Regions from separate parts of the Homo sapiens genome. Here region 1 is linked to region 2. The links are contacts of gene promoters, found by promoter capture Hi-C in human tissues and cell types (Jung and others, 2019). All regions are on one chromosome and are shown on one strand. The core of a region is centred on a gene start or on the middle of the fragment in contact, and the rest is flanking DNA. Distances in the headings are between cores, read along the strand shown.

What was found. Contacts are between HindIII fragments. The study calls those that stand out against the background at their distance.
Region 1: the fragment with the promoter of CES3 here is called in contact with a fragment that was not itself captured in region 2 in 5 of the 25 tissues and cell types used here (IMR-90 fibroblasts, dorsolateral prefrontal cortex, hippocampus and 2 more).

What each region holds. Positions count from the first base shown.
Region 1 is chr16:66,958,110-66,963,202 of GRCh38, forward strand. It overlaps CES3 (carboxylesterase 3), which reads left to right and starts at 3,157. Exons shown (of 13, transcript NM_024922.6): 1 at 3,157-3,280; 2 at 5,070-5,093. The coding sequence starts at 3,199. RefSeq lists enhancers at 2,799-3,048, 2,853-3,354, 3,139-3,348. The HindIII fragment of the contact is 25,956 bases long and covers 1-5,093 here.
Region 2 is chr16:67,043,450-67,049,033 of GRCh38, forward strand. All of the region lies in intron 3 of CBFB (core-binding factor subunit beta), which reads left to right. Among named protein-coding and RNA genes, the nearest start is that of CBFB, 17 kb to the left of the region's middle. The HindIII fragment of the contact is 7,078 bases long and covers 1-5,584 here.

The DNA.
Region 1 (5,093 bases), core at 1,907-4,406, 86 kb before region 2:
GTCTCGAACTCCTGAGCTCAAGTGATCCTTCTGCCTCAGCCTCCCAAAGTGCTGGGATTACAGGTGTGAGCCACCATGCCTGCCCTTCATTTCACATTTTTATGATTCCCTCAGTCATCATCGATGCCAAGACCTCTGAACCATAGCACAGTAAATGGTGGAATCCATGGGCATGTTCCCCCCAGTAGTCATGGACAGCAGCCCAGGGATTTGGAAGAAGTTGACCTGTTAATGTAAAGGAGCTTTGTCACTGGACTCTGAGCTGGGAGGAGCTGGGGACCTCTTAGCACCCACAACCCAGGTATTAATTAGGACATGAGAATTAAGGGCAGAGTTAGCATCTACCAAGGCAGGAGGCTGGGAGGATGGCTGGGGCCACAGTGAGTTGGATGGGAGACATTGAATCAACAACAGGCCATGCTGTTGGGTGGAGGTCGAGAGCAACTTCTGGTGGAGACTGGAAGGAGAGAAACTGGAGACAGCAAAGGTGGATGACTAGCTTTCCTAGAAATAAGAACAGAAGGGCCAGGCATGGTGGCTCACGCCTGTAATCCTGGCACTTTGGGAGGTGGAGGGAGGAGGATTTCTTGAGCCCAGGAGTTCGAGACCAGCCTGGTCAACATAGGGAGATCCCATCTCTACAAAAAACATACAAAAAGTAAAAAAATAACCAGGCATGACGGCACACATGCACCTGTAGTCGCAGCTACTTGGGAGGCCAAGGTGGGAGGATCACTTAAACCCAGGAGATTGAGGCTGCAGTGAGCCAAGATCATGCCACTATACTCTACCCTGGGTGACAGAGTGAGACCCTGTCTCCAAAAAAACAAAAAAGAAGAGGAAGAAAGAAAGAGAGGAAGGAAGGAAGGAAGTGGGGGGGAGGGAAAGAAAGCAAGAAAGAAAGAAAGAAGAAAGAGAAAGAAAAGAAAGAGAGACAAAGAAAAGAGAGGAAATAAAAAGAAAGAAAGAAAGAAAAGAAAGAAAAAGAAAGAGAGAAAGAAAGAAAGAGAAAGAAAGAGGAAGGAAGGAAGGAAGGGGAAAAACAGAAGAATGGAGCAATAGCTAGAGGGCAAAGTGGGTCAAGGCAGGCTTTGATGGTGGCATTTACACAGAAGCTGTGTTTGCAGCTGATGGGAGGGATGCTGCTACCAAAGAGACAGCCCTGGGGACGTGGGAGGGGACCAGGGTCTAGTGTCCATGGGTAGGTCCCAGAGCTGGGACTAGAGCAAGACAAGCAAGTGTAAAATTTAGAAGGCATTCATTCTCAGGTGCCGACCCTCTACTGGTATGACCCCGGGGGTGAGTGACTCTTTAACTTTTATGCCCTGGGCGCCTTGCTGGCCTGTCTCACCCTAGTCCTGGCCCTGGTAGGCCCATCCACAATGCTAGGAGGGAAGGCAGACCTAGCTGCAGGGAGTTGGGAAACGTGGCCTTGGGAGCAGATGGAGAGCTCTCCTGGCAGCATCTATACCCGAAGATGGAAGGTAAGATTGTGGGCGGAGAAGAGATCCAGGTGCCTTGATGTGAGTGTTGAAGGTGGAAAGCATGCCAGAGCCAGGTGCTAAAATCTTCAGCAAATGATCAAGGGGGTGTGGCTGGGGGGTGGCAGGGCTGTGATGGCAACAAGAAGAGGAAGGTGGAATAGGGAAGGACAAAGTCTGGAGGCAGCTCTGAAAAGGAGACCCCACCCCAGGCTGCCGGGGAAGATTCAGGAAGCTGCAATGGTTTTTTATGAATTTTTTTTTAGAGAGAGAGTCTTGCTATGTTGCCCAAGCTGGCCTCAAGCTCCTGGGCTGAAGCAATCCTCCTGCCTCAGCCGCCTGAGTAGCTGGGACTACAGACTTGTGCCACAATGCCCAGCTGGCACTAGTTATTTTTGGCAGAAGGGAAGTTTCATCCTAAAGCCTGTCTCTTCAGCTCTGGGTGCCAGCTGGAGCCCCGGAAGAGGATCTGGCATCGTGTTTAGGCACAACCCTCACTCTGTCTTTCACTGGGCCAGCAAATATCTATCCATCCTCCCACCGCCTACTCCCAGCCAGCCATGTTCCTGACACTGAGGCCCAGAAGTGAGTCCTGCCCTCCCTGGGGGTGGGAGCCTCCTAAGCCAGCAGAGAGACAGATGCCCTGCAGATCCCCGCCCCGGTCAAGAGCAGGCTTCCATCAGTTCTGGTTCCCAGACTCTCCTCTCCTCAGGCTTCCATGAGTTCTGGTTCCAAGCCCCTCCCCTCCTCTCCCCTCCCCTCCCTCCCTCCCTCCCTCTCTCTCTTTCTTTCTCTCTCTATTTTTCTTTTTTCTCTTTTTGTTTCTTTCTCTTTTTCTGTCTCTTTTTCTTTCTCTCTCTCCTTTCTCTCTCTCCTTCTTTCTCTCTCTCCTTTCTTTCTTCTCTCTCTCTCTTTCTCTCTTTCTTTGTCTTGCTCTATAGCCTAGCCTAGAGTGCAGTGGCATTATCACAGCTCACTGCAGTCTCGACAACCTGGGCTCAAGTGATCCTCTCACCTCAGCCTCCCAAGTAGCTGGGACCACAGGCATGCACCATCACACCTGGCTAATTTTTTTTATTTTTTCTAGAGACGTGTCTCCCTGTGTTGCCCAGGCTGGTCTCAAACTCCTGGGCTCAAGCGATCTTCCTGCCCCATCCTCCTAAAGCACTGGGATTACAGGTATGAGCCACCACACCCAGTCCCAAGCCTCATGTTTTCACACACACACTCACACACACATGCAAACATGTACCCTCACTTCAATGCTATGAGGTGGGTCCTATTATCATCACTGTTTTATTTTCTTTCACATTTTAACATGAGATTTGGAGGGGACAAAACATCCAAACCATATCAAGCCCTCACCTCAGGCTGGGTTGCCCACTCGGAGTGGCACCCCAGGGTCACTGGCCACCACTTCCTAGGGTCAGTGATGTGGTCACCTTGGGATGAACGCACAGGATTTCATGGAGATCACCAAGTCAGGAGAGCTGGAATTTGAAAACAGTGGGACGGGGAGGGCTGTCATATCAACCAGGCCTCTGCAGGGCACTCATCTAGCCCTGCCTCTGGCTCAGCCTGAGCATGGGGCTGGCCACCAGCTAGGTGGCGCTGTCCTTGGAGGTTCTATATCACAGCCCTTTAGAGATCGGTGGTGCTGAAGGGCAGGGATCTTATTCCACCTTCTGAAGCTTCTGTCGAACCAGTTGTAAGGAGAATGGAGAGAGCAGTGAGAGTGGAGTCCGGGGTCCTGGTCGGGGTGGTCTGTCTGCTCCTGGCATGCCCTGCCACAGCCACTGGTAAGACACACCTGCTGGGCCTGCAGAGGTACTTGGTGTGGAGGAGTCAAGAGTGAGACAGGGACAGGGAGCAGTGGGCCGACCGCTCAGGAAACAGTCCTGTTTGGAGGCAGACCAGGGGTTGTGCATTCTCTCTGGGCAGGCGCTCTGCTCTTGCTGTATTTGTTTCGTTGTTTTTGTTGTTGTTGTTTGAGACAGAGTTTTGCTCTTGTTACCCAGGCTGGAGTGCAATGGCGCGATCTCGGCTCACTGCAACCTCCGCCTCCTGGATTCAAGCGATTCTCCTGCCTCAGCCTCCTGAGTAGCTGGGATTACAGGCACCTGCCACCATGGCCGGCTAATTTTTGTATTTTTAGGAGAGATGGGGTTTCACCATGTGGGCCAGGCTGGTCTCAAACTCCTGACCTCAGGTGACCCACCTGCCTCGGCCTCCCAAAGTGCTGGGATTACAGGCGTGAGCCACCGCACCTGGCCTGTCTTTATGTCTTAAGGGGGCCTGAGATTTGTTTTAATGAAGTATAGTAAGACAAGCAGATATGCAAATGACTATCATGAGGGAAGGAGTTTGCTCGTAGTTCCCTGTGAACAGGAAGCAGGCCATGCCACATAGGGCCACAGAGGGAAGCACCAGGTGGCATCAGCCAGGAGGCAGAGGGAGCAGGGGGAAAATGTGGGCAAGCCCCTTTGACACGGTTGCCACGGGAAGGAATAGGCAAGGCAGGCTAAAGAGGTTTACGATTGGCAGCAGGCTCTGGGGAAAGGGGCTGTCCCCAGCCAGCTTCCTGGTACCCGGCTCTGTGGTGATTATGGCTGGTGGATGGCAGCCAGGAGCTGAGAGCTGTATAAAGGAGGTGGTTGGGTATGGCTCTGGACTGGTTTGCCTTTGCTCCCTAGAGAGATGCCTGCCAATTCCACCTCCCCAGAGAGCTGCCTCCTATCTCTAGGAATTGTCTAGCCTGGGAGAGGCAGTCCTCCAGTCTTAGTCTGTTTGTGTTGTTGTAAAAGAATACAGGAAGCTGGGTAATTCACAAAGAAAAGAAGTTTAGTTAGGCCACAGTTCTGCAGGCCGTACAAGAAACATGGTGCCAGCTGGGCATGATGGCTCACACCTGTCGTCCCAGCACTTGGGGAGGCTGAGGTGAAAGGATTGCTTGAGCCCAGGGGTTTGAGACCAGCCTGGGCAACATAATGAGACCCCATCTCTACTTTTTAAAAAATAATTCAGGGCTGGGCATGATGGCTCATGCCTGTAATGCCAGCACTTTGGGAGCCCCAGGTGGATGGATTACTTGAGGTCAGGAGTTCGAGACCAGCCTGGCCAACATGATGAAACCCCGTCTCTACTAAAAATACAAAAATTAGCCAGGCGTTGTGGTGCACACCTGTAATCCCAGCTACTTGGGAGGCTGAGGCCCTGGAGTCGCTTGAACTCGGGAGTCAGAGGTTGCAGTGAGCCAAGATCGTGCCACTGCACTCCAGCTTGGTCAACAGAGCTAGACCCTGTCTCAAACACAAAAAATAAAAACAAAGAAATGGGCAAGTGGCTGGCCCCAAGGCACAAGGCCCTAGTGGCAGGCCCGGTCTGGCCTGGAGTGGAGTGGTAGTGACTCTCAGGCAGGCAGGGAGGAGGAAGTTGGGCGTCAACCTAAGACCAGGCTCACCGGCTTGCTGGGAAGGTTACCAAGATGCTGTGTGGTAAGTACTGAGAACAGCCTGAGGGTTTGTCTTTCACTCCTTCCCCTCATGGGGGCTGCAAACTCACCCCGTGGCCTTTCTGTCCTTCCCTCAGGGCCCGAAGTTGCTCAGCCTGAAG
Region 2 (5,584 bases), core at 2,072-4,571:
CTGATTATAAGTATATACCTTACATATGACCAAGTCAGAGCACAGAATTTTATAATCCTTCAAATATATTTGAAACTTTTATACCCAGGTACCTGGTGAGCTGTCTACATTGGCTCTTAATAAGGATCTTTCTCAGAAATGATTTAAACTAATAACAGTATAATAGAAAGAGCTCTAGATTTGAGTCAAGACAGTCATAACTATTTTCCTTAACATGTAAATGAGGATCAGAATGTCTGCCCTATTCATGTGCCTCATGTGAGAATTAAATGTAGTACCAGAATATGTGAAAATGCCTTTTAAATTGTAAACCCCTGTCTACAGTTAGGCAATTTGATGGTTCTGTAGGGTGAGATTATAGCTAACTGATTGATAGAGTGTTTGTGCTACAGTGTGCCTTAGGTAAGCTTCACGTCAGGTAGTTGAACAATGTTGGAACACTACATCTTTCCCAAGTGTTCCATCCTGGTGTGTTACAAACACTGGCAGCCAAAATGTTCTTAATTCTTTAATCTAGCTGTCAAAAGACAAGGGAAAAGCAACTAATCAGAATTTAAATCATTCTTAAGTTAAAATTGTGTAGACCAGGCAACTCCAGTTCCTTTGATCTTTCCTCTTAGGACTTATTTCCAATTACTTTTATTTCAAATAAATGCAAGTGATTATGGTTGACCATAAATTATTAGTCTTGAGTGGTCAGATTAATGGTTTTTACATGTATTCTGTGTCTCATAAAGCTTCATTGGGATTTTGAAATAATGATTGGATGTACTTACTTTGCGATCCCAGTTTATGACTTTAAAGATAAGGGGTATGAAAATCATTTCATAAAAGGAAAAAAATGAACTTTACAGTGCTACTGTTCATTTTTTTCTGTGGAAATTGAATATGCTATCTCGTTTTTACCACATTGACCTCAGAAAAAGAGAGGTTAAACTTTTCTATGGTTGTTACATTCTTGTTTATAGCTTATGATTTTAATTGATAGTCAAATACATTAATGTCAGACATCGAGAAGTATTTATTAAGTATATGTCATTAGAGTAGCTACTTTTAAAAATTTTGATAAGTTGTATTTTTTTTCTTTCTGGACTTTATACTTAAAAGTCTTTTAATTTATTTTTATGAGCATAAAATAAAGCAAAATCTAACAAGATTGGATTTAATGAGTGAGGACAGAATTTTATTTTAAATGGCCTTTTCTAATAAAGGTCTATGATTCTGCTTCTTCTGGTACCATTTACGCACTTGCCTGCAGGATCTTTGTCCCAAAATACATATTGTGTTTGTTTATATACCATCCACAATTTGGCAGAGTTTACAGGACTTCTTGATGTTAGCTTTGAGAAATCCCTATTTAAGCTCAAGAAGTTCCTTCTCTGTAGATAGCCCAGTCATTCCAAATAAAAGATCTCTATGGTAAAGCTTTGGAGTGTGATTTTCTTCAAGAGAAATTAGACAACTTTACAAATACCTTGTCACATCTGGATTTTAAGTATTTCAGTTCGACTAAAATATGAATTGACAGCACTTAGTTATTGACAGTTTAGTGTATTGAAATCTGGTTTTTAAAAATATGCTTTAGATAAACTATAATACTCTAATAATAACGGAATCATAAAATTTAGAACTGGTAACTGCAAGCTTATATATATATATATATTTGACACCTTTGTAGCTGGCAGAGCGTTTGTATTTTTAAAGAAAAGTTTTTATTTTAGTTATTTTAGTTATTTTTCAATCTAAGAGAGGAAGTCGACTTTCTGAAAAAATTAAAATGTTTTGGCTAGGTGGGGTGGTTCATGCCTGTAATCCCAGCACTTTGGGAGGCCGAGGCAGGTGGATCACCTGAGGTCAGGAGTTCGAGACCAGACTGGCCAACGTGATGAAACCCCACCTCTACTAAAAATACAAAAAATTAGCCAGGTATGCTGGCATGTGCCTGTAATCCCAGCTACTTGGGAGACTGAGGCAGGAGAATTGCTTGAACCCGGGAGGCGGAGGTTGCAGTGGGCTGAGATTGTACCACAACACTCCAGCCTGGGCAACAGAGCAAGACTCTGTCTGAAAAAAAAAAAATTAAAATGTTTTAAAATTAGTATGTCATAGTACCTTCCAGTTAGAGTACGTGAATCTGCATACATGGTAAATGCACCTCTGAAGCACTTGAAGATTGTGAAGTCCCGTTTTCTCTTCTTTTGGATTGCATTATTTCCATTTTAGTGTAAAGGTGAAATTCTCTTTCATGACCTTTCCTGAATTACATATTCCAAGTGAGAGAAGGCAGAAATAATATGTCTGAGAAGAGCATCCTTCACTCTTCCCCTCCTTCCTTCTACTTTCTACATTTTTTTTTTTTTTTTTGAGACAGTGTCTTGCTCTGTCATCCAGGCTGGAGTGCAGTGATGTAATCTTGGCTCACTGCAACCTCCGCCTCCCAGGTTCAAGCGATTCTCCTGCCTCAGCCTCCCAAGTAGCTGGGATTACAGGCACCCGCCACCACACCTGGCTAATTTTTGTGTTTTTATTGGAGATGGGGTTTCACCATTTTGGCCAGGCTGGTCTCAAACTCCTGACCTCAGGTGATCCGCCTGTCTTGGCCTCCCAAAGTGTTGGGATTATAGGCGCTCTGAGCCACTGTGCCTGGCCTTTTTTGTTGTTGTTTGTTTGTTTTTGAAACTAGATATCTCTCTGTCACCCAGGCTGGAGTGCAGTGGTGTGATCTTGGCTTACTGCAACCTCTGCCTCCTGGGCTCAAGCGATCCTCCCACCTCAGCCTCCCAAGTAGCTGGAACCACAGGCACGCGCCACCATGCCCAGGTAATTTTTTTGTAGATATGGGGGTCTCACCATGTTGCCCAGGCTGGTCTCAAACTCCTGGACTCAAGCAATCCTCTCGCCTTGGCCTCTCAAAGTGCTGGGATTACAGGCATGTACCCATCATTTTTTTTTAATGGTTAATTCAAATGCTGCCAGGATAAAGACTATTGAAATGTTGTTGTCTGAAGATGTTAATTTCTTTGTAGCACTGCTATGCCCTAGTTTTACTATTTCCCATTTTCACTTGTAGTTTTTCAATCAGCATTATTGAGGTATAATTTACATGTAGTACAGTTCACCTATTTTAAGTGTACAAGTCTGTGACAACTGTGTATTCAGTAGTATAACCACCACCAAAGTTCACCATTGCTTCAAAAAGTTCCCTCATGCCCCCTTGCAGGTAGTGTTCTAATTGATGCAGACATACATGCACTGATACTTTTGTGATCCTCATCTTACAGGGAAGAAAACGTTTGTAATTTCTTTTTAACAGCATAAAAATGCTGTTTACCTTCAGGTGCAGAGACTTTGTTTCTTCAATATTATTCTTTGATGCTTAGTTTTGTACAGAGGATTGGAAGCTACAGACAAGCTAAAGTATAATAGTGATATGGTAGACTTTAATTATTGTTCCTTTTTTTATGAAAGTATGCACGTGAACAGTTGGAAAGTATTATCTGTTATAAGCTTTTCAGTTTAAGCTGGGCCTCCTCAAATTGATGTGTGTTTAGGAACTAAGAATTTTAAATAACATTTGAAGGGCCGGGCGCAGTAGCTCATACCTGTAATCCCAGCACTTTAGGAGGCCAAGGCAGGCAGATCACAAGGTCAGGAGTTCAAGACCAGCTTGGCCAACATAGTGAAACCCCGTCTCTACTAAAAAAAAAAAAAAATTAGCCAGGCATAAGCTGAGATCATGCCACTGCACTGTAGCCTGGGCAACACAGCAAGACTCTGTCTCAATAAATAAATACCATTTGAAATGTCTTCAATGCCATGTGTGGAAACTATTTAAAAAAATAAAACGTGCCTCTTGGCAGTATTGCTGTGCTTTCAGGACTCTAATGCAGGCTGTACCTAAGAGGGAAAGGGCTGAGTCTGGGGATGGTTGGCAGGTTGTTTTTGTGGATGAAAAACCTTTTACCCATGTATGCAGTCAGTACTGAGCCTTTTTGTGTTTTAAAACTTCAGATGTAAAGACAGGTTAATCTTCAGATTAAAACAAAAGGATGGCCTAGAAACTTGTGACTTCGACATTTACATTAGAAGAATGTAGATGTTTTCAAATAAACAAATCTGCCCATATCATAGATGTTCAAAGTTTGTTCCATATAATAACAATGATAGTTTCTAATAATCGTGTGGCCCTGTTTGCAGAACAGTGTTCTAAGTAATGAGCCATTTGGGAGAACCCTTTAAATTTTTTTTTTAGGATATTTATTCACACCAGCTTTTTAGTCCTGAGTTTCTATCCATCCCTTTGCTATCCAGAACATTTCTTGGCCATTTTTTTACTGGGTCAGGTGCCGTGGCTCGTGCCTTTGGTCCCAGTGCTCTGGAAGGCCAGGGCGGGTGGATCGCCTGGGGTTAGGAGTTCAAGACTAGCGTGGCCAGCATGGTGAAGCCCCGTCTCTACTAGGAATGCAAAAATTGGCTGGGCATGGTGGTGGGTGCCTCTGGTCCCAGCTGCTCGGGAGGCTAAGGCAGGAGAATCACTTGAACCTGGGAGGCAGAGGGTGCAGTGAGCCAAGATCGCGCCACTGCACTCCAGCCTGGGAACAAAATTCCATCTCAAAAAAAATAAAAATAAAAATGCAGAAATTGGTCAGGCGTGGTGTCGCATGCCTCTGGTTCCAGCTACTTGAGAGAGGCTGGGGTGGGAGAGTTGCTTGGGCCTGGGAGGCAAAGGTTGCAGTGAGCAGAGATCGCACCACGGCACTCCAGCCTGGGTGACAGAGCAAGGCTCCATCTCCAAACAAACAAATAACAAAAAAAACCCCTAAAACATTTTTTATTTTCCTTAAATGTATTGGCCAAGGTTAAAATATCCATCCTGAATATTCTGTATGAAAACATTGGATATGAAGAAAAAAAGAAAATTCAGGCAGTTGACCAGGGGAGAGAATTGAGCTTTTTGGTTCTTCCTGACACATATTCTCAGTGAGACTATACTCACTTTTTTAAAAGCTATTTATAAAATATTAAAATAAGATATTACATGAAGTTAAAAATTGAAACGAAAGTCAGCATCTTAATTCACCAATTACACAACTGAATGGTGTTTTTTGTTTGTTTGTTTGAGACAGAGTCTCGCTCTGTTGTCGAGGCTGGAGTGCAGTGGCATGATCTCAGCTCACTGCAAGCTCTGCCTCCCGGGTTCATGCCATTCTACTGCCTCAGCCTCCCGAGTAGCTGGGACTACAGGAGCCCGCCACCACGCCTGGCTAATTTTTTTGTATTTTTTTAGTAGAGACGGGTTTTCACCATGTTAGCCAGGATGGTCTCGATCTCTTGACCTTGTGAGCCACCGTGTCTAGCCTTTTTTTTTTTTTTCTTTTTTTTTTTTTTGAGATGGAGTTTCACTCTTGTTGTCCAGACTGGAGTGCAATGGCGCCATCTCAGCTCACCACGACCTCCACCTCCCGGGTTCATGCAATTCCCTACCTCAGCCTCCCGAGTAGCTGGGATTACAGGCATGTGCCACCATGCTTGGCTAATTTTTTGTATTTTTAGTAGAGACAGGGTTTCTCCATGTTGGTCAGGC